Linked DNA regions of Homo sapiens: region 1 is linked to region 2. The links are contacts of gene promoters, found by promoter capture Hi-C in blood cells and fetal thymus (Javierre and others, 2016). All regions are on one chromosome and are shown on one strand. Each heading gives the region's core, a stretch centred on a gene start or on the middle of the fragment in contact. The rest is flanking DNA. Distances are from core to core; before and after follow the strand shown. Region 1 has its middle 46 kb from the start of LINC02104. Region 2 holds the start of DAB2 (DAB adaptor protein 2).

What was found. The method cuts DNA at HindIII sites, captures the fragments that hold promoters and counts their contacts. A CHiCAGO score of 5 or more calls a contact.
Region 1: a fragment that was not itself captured here is called in contact with the fragment with the promoter of DAB2 in region 2 in 3 of 17 cell types (M1 macrophages, M2 macrophages and M0 macrophages); the score reaches 8.1 in M1 macrophages.

Annotation. Positions count from the first base shown.
Region 1 is chr5:39,565,291-39,568,307 of GRCh38, forward strand. No RefSeq gene overlaps it. Among named protein-coding and RNA genes, the nearest start is that of LINC02104, 46 kb to the left of the region's middle. The HindIII fragment of the contact is 354 bases long and covers 1,474-1,827 here.
Region 2 is chr5:39,423,431-39,426,340 of GRCh38, forward strand. It overlaps DAB2 (DAB adaptor protein 2), which reads right to left and starts at 1,550. Exons shown (of 15, transcript NM_001343.4): 1 at 1,374-1,550. The HindIII fragment of the contact is 7,828 bases long and covers 412-2,910 here.

The DNA.
Region 1 (3,017 bases), core at 401-2,900, 140 kb after region 2:
TTTCCATGTGTTGGTGGCAGCTGAGTCAGAATTAGGAACCATATTCCTGTTTTAAACTGTCTAAGGGATGTACAGCTGAATCCTTTCAATGGGGCCCTGTCTTGGGATGGACTTTCCTCAGGTGATGTGGCTGACGGCTGCTTGAAGAGTGCCTCATTTCTGGAGATACCTACCCCTATTGTTCCAGCTGTGTCTTGGAAACCCTTTAGTAGTATTTTAGGTGGGAGAGTCCAACACATAGTTGTATATGTGAGTGTGGTTAACAAGAGGAAAATGGACCATCACCATTGCTCTCCCCGTCTTCTTCCTCCTCTTTTCTTCCTTTCACCTGGCCCAAGTGCCTGCAAGTCATAGACTACCTCCACCCCTTCTGTGTACCACCAGTAATCCTCTAGGTACTTACAGGGGTATAAATAACTCACTTTGGATACAATGGGTCAAAGCAATGGTCCTGATGACAATACCAAAAAATGTATAGAAGGATCTGATCACTGTGATGTCATCTGTCATCACAGGTGAGTTACATTGGACTCCCACTCAACTTTTGGTGAGTTTATGAAGTTATGTTCATATGCAAAAACATAATAACCCATTTTATGTCAAACTAGATACATACCCCTGTAGCTGCTTGAGTTTATTAATCTTAATTCTTTTCAAACTATTTAATATGTTAGCATGTACCATATCAAGAAAATATATTCTGCAAGTTTACTCCCATCTGTTGTGGAAAGTAAAAATTTGCCAGAAACTTACATATATTTATAACAATGTATGCTCACCTAGTTCTAATAATCAAGGGTTTGGCAATGAAAATTGGTTTGTATTTAAACTCACTAATTCATAAAGCAAGTACCGGATGATGTGTTGTATGTTCTCTTAGCCAGAGCAGCTGGCTATGTTTATGTAGGTAGTGCCTCTCCAAAGGTGGCTGAACAAGGGCGCAATGAAAGGCTGAAGTCCATCCCAAGTCTCCTGGCTGAGCCCTCTCTCTGGAACACGGCTATGTCTGTCTGGAGGAAGGCACACATTTTCTTTTTTAAAAAATGTACTTATTTTTATTTTTATTTTTTTGTGCAGATAGACAAATTTGACTGAATATTCTTTTTTTATTTTTTGTTTTACTTTAAGTTCTGGGATACATGTGCAGAATGTGCAGGCTTGTTACGTAGATATGCATGTGCTGTGGTGGTTTGCTGCACCTATCAATCTGTCATCTAGGTTTTAAGCCCACATGTATTAGGTATTTGTCCTAATGCTCTCCCTCCCTTTGCCCCCCACTCCCCGACAGGCCCCGGTATGTGTAGAAAACAAAACACCACATTTTCTCACTCATAAGTGGGAGATGAACAATAAGAACACATTTTCTTCTTACAAACACACTACCAATTTGCCAGGTCATATTCCCAAGAGGCTAAGATGCCTTTTTTTTTTTTTTCCTTATTTATTCTCCTATGCCCAGGCTTGTTATGTGCAAGCTTCAGGCCCTTATTTTTCTGGGTTTGAGTCAAATCTTTATTTCATGGCCCAATATGGAAACTTCTTTATACTCTGGGTCAGAGTAATTGCCTTTAGTTGAATATTTGTCAGCTTTCTTTTTCCTGATTTGAATTTACCAGAATTCCATGCAGTATTCTAGGCATAATGTACCCATTGTGATTATAATTTTCTAATGATTTTCAGGATTTCTATTTCTTTTAGGTTATGCCAGCCTTTTGGGATATTCTTGATGAAGCTATTGGAAAGAAATGTTTTCTATTTTGAAATTGCTTAGCTGGTGAAGTTTAAGTCTAGAGCTGCTGGCAGCCATCCTAGCCACTCTTGAGGATAAGCTTCCTGAGTATCTAGCCAGTACTGAGGAAGGAAGAGGAAGGAAGGAAGAAAAGAAAGAAGAGGAGGGAGGAGAATGAAAGATTTGATATATTTAATCCAATCCAGGACCTGGCTTTAGCCATTTCTGAACTTCCTTTTACAAAAGCCAAAAAAGTTCCTTTTTTATTTAAGATAGTTTGAAGTAGACTTCTATTTTTTGCCTGATACTGTCCAGTCAAATATAGTATGAAATTTATGATGTCCATTTCTAATCTGCTAGAAGTGAGGAGGGTGGAGTTATGAGCAAGTGTCTGCTTTGGTTAGGCTGTGTTAAGTACATTATATGTTATTATTATTTAAGCCTTAAAACAACTCTGTCGATCAGGTATTGCTAATGCACAGGATAAAATTTAAAACATTAACAGTATTTCCCTTAAATTTGTAGGAGTAAAGTTTAAAAATTAAGTCAATATATATGTGTATATATGTCTGTGTATGTATATATACCTGTATATATACATACATATCTATATATATGTATGCATGTATATATAGATACACATATATATCTATATGTACATGTACATTTATTAGTGTGAAACAAACAGTACTGACCTGTTAGTGGTAAAGAGACTTCAGCTCCCTATTTACAATCAGTGCAAAGGTTTCCAAGGTTATCAACTTACTTGTATCAAAGAAGTCAACACTTGATTGAAACCATGAATTGTGCAGATAAATACTGAGAAATGTGTTTTGATTGCACCACAGACAAGTAGCTTGAAAAAGGAGACAACTGAGATGCTCTAAATTACTTGAAATAAGGTAGAGGAAGGAATGTAGCAATAGCAAATTAAGTAGAAAACATTCTCTTCTATGTTTAGTACCTCGGAGGGAAATGTGTGGGCTGTTACAGGTAACTTGCTCTTTTCACTTAATGCCCTCTGCCTGCATGAGTTCCTCTGAGATGGCCCTAACTGCTTTATGTTAAAATTAAGGGGAGTGACTCTCTTGTGGAAAATAATATAGTGGATTTCTGTTTTCAGTTTCTTAGCCTTGCTACAGCAACCTATGCCACCACCACCAGCACTCACACATCACAAGCCTAGAATCTTTCAGTTAGTTGGTGTCATCCATAGGATAAAACCTCCAAACCTCTGAGAATACATCACACTGAAGCCCCATGTGATCAGATCTAAATCTTGCCTAAT
Region 2 (2,910 bases), core at 300-2,799:
GCGGGGCACCTGGCTCAGAGAAAAGTAGCCTCCCAAAGTCTGGCTGCTGGGGTAAGAAGCATGGTGACAAGCCATTTGGTAGCTGCAAGCTCCCTCCTCCCCAACAGCCAGTAGGTGCTTTTGTGTGAGAAGCCAACCTCAAGACTGTAAGGACAATCAAGTATACATCTCATCAAAGCCATTCCAAGAGGCTTATCAGACATCTCAAAGGCATTTTTTGTAGATGCCTGCTTTCCACTCCCATTACTTCTGTTTGCATTAGTTATATCTTACCTCCTTCTCCCCCATGCCCCTGCTTTGCCTGACTAAGGCCAGAAATTTTTTCATGAAGTCACTTTATAGAGCAATAGCAACATTTACTATTCGTGAAGTCGCCCCTCCATAATTTTTAAGTCTTTCCATGTGTCTGGAAGCTTGTTTCTGCTCTTCTCGGTTTACAGAGCGGCTCTCTTCCTTCCAAACAAAAACTAAAAAGAAAGGGGAAAAGGTGGGGGGTGGTTGGGGTGGAGATAACACCCAGATTCCTTAAGTGTTTTTAATCCAGTTGAATTTCCCTTTGGACTCAGCTCCCTGCTGAAACTGTCTGCGGACCAGAATTCCAGGCTCAGAATTAAGTCAAGAGGGAAAGACAGCAGAAACAAATAACAGAGTCAGCTCTATGCTATGAAAACCGCTATGTTGACTGAGGCTCCACGGTTTTAACCCATTCATTTTTCCCCCCTTTTTTAGAATTCTTACTTAATCTTTTTAACCAGCTTACAACAGGCAGGCAAGCACCATATAAACCATGCTCCCTGCGCCGGGGGATATAAAACAAGTTTCTTAAGTCCCTTGGGTAGATACTTCCTTAGGAATGCCGGTGTAAGACAAAAGTTCACATTTTAATGCCATATGTTGTCAGTCACCAGGAAAAAGCTCCTTATGGGCACAAGCCAGGTCCCCAGCCTTTGTCACACAGCAAAAATAAACACCCTTCGAGGAGTTAATTAGGCGGTCAGCAGCCACCTCAGTGTCCTAGGAGGGCTGCCCGCAGACCTTTTACACACACACACACACACACACACACACACACACACACACACACACACACACGACACAAAAGGAGGCGTTTGTTAAATGTCACAAGCTGGGCATCTGGAGTCGGATTCGAAAGGTAAATACATTCCGCGGAAGCATTCCTCAGATGTCAGGCCACAAAACTGCTGGTTTCCCCAAGCACAGGGTCTCATTTCTAAGATTCCCCACAGCCCAAGGTCTGTACTCAAAGAAGGGTAGCGGGGGGCGGGGGGGTGAGAGAGGGGGAGCAAAGGAGAGAAGGAGATCTTTAAAAAAAAAATGGAGCCAGAGGGAAGAAGGGTTTCGAAGCTACTCACCGGCTAGCTATTGCCTCCGTGAAGCGAGCATGACTTCCCCGCGCCCGGAGCCTCCAGGCTACAGCGCAGCGGATGCGGCGGGCCTCGCTTAAATAGCCGCCGGCCGGGAGCTTCGGAGCCGCGCGGCCACTCCCGGCGAGAGATATGGTTCTAATCAGATGCTGGCAGCTGAGGACTCCCCAGGAATGTGCCAGGATGTTTTTGCTGCCTGGGCTTGGTAACTCCCCCTCAACGTGTCTGCAGAGTCTTCCAAACTTAACTGTTTATTAACTCGCGCTGCAGCGGCGCAGAGGACCCCGCTCCCCTGAGCTCCGCGAGCCCCACCAGCTGGGGGCGATCGCAGGGACCCAGCGACGGGAGGGGAAATGTGTTCGGGGAGAAGTCAAAAGCCCCAGACCGACGCGGGCGGGGGGCGGGTGCAAATAAGGACAGGAAAGGGAAGCTCTGGAGGAAAGGGGTGGGATCCACCGAGCTTCGTTTCACAGATCCGTTCCCTGGATTGCCACTGCGAGTGATGTGGCACACGGAGTCATCCTAACCAACCCGTTGGGGCCCTTTGAACAAAGGACTGCCTTTACTCCTGACTTTTCTGACAAGGGACAACGGTTCCTGCGCAGATCTGCAGTTTCTAAAGTTGATCGCGCGATTGGATTTGCTCCCCTTAGAAGAAATTAGTGTCTCCCTCATTGCAGATGCAAATGCGCTTAAGTTAGTGGGAAATCTATGTGTGCATATGTGAAACATACTGTATTTACCTATGAAATATAATCATATATATGGATATAAAAATAATATTCTCTCTGAAATCGATATGAGCAAAACATGTTCACGTCTATGTAGCCTATCAAATAAGTTATAATTCTGATACAATCAGAGATTCTATACAGGCTTCCCTTACAGTGTATATACACCTATATGTAGACACATAACATGACTTTATCTGCATGAATTTCCATAGCACTTCCTATAACTCTAGGAAAAACATGAACTGCAAGAAATAAAATATTTAAAAATGTTAACGTAGAGTGCTGAGCGGTAGAAGGTACTCCGCAGCAAATCCTAATGAGTGTTAACAAGCTGAGAATTCATTTTCTCCATATTTTAAAATCAAGAATTATTGTAAAACATCCACAGAAGCTCTGTTGCTTTTTGGAGAATTCTGAAATTACTCTTGTGAAAGACGTGTCTCTTTTCCCTTTTTTTAAGAAAAAAATTTAATTGTTTAAAGTCAGAGGCAGCACGTAGTAAATGTGAAAATGCTAAATTGTATCTCGGATGGGAGGGGGTTATTGATTTTATCGAGTAAGCAACACAGTGGATTTGCATTTTACCTCTGGAAACTGAGGGTTCAAATAGGGCTCGTGGGACATCAAGGATATATTTTGTGGTCCGTGCCTAGCCTCGACTGCAAAGCCACTGTGTAATTTGGGGTAGCTCAATGTGAGTGGCAATGTCTGCTCTCAAGTAGGTCAGGCTTGAAACAACCGTTGTTCGGGGAGACTGAGGGGTGCAGAGCAGCACAGCTGGCCCAGAATTC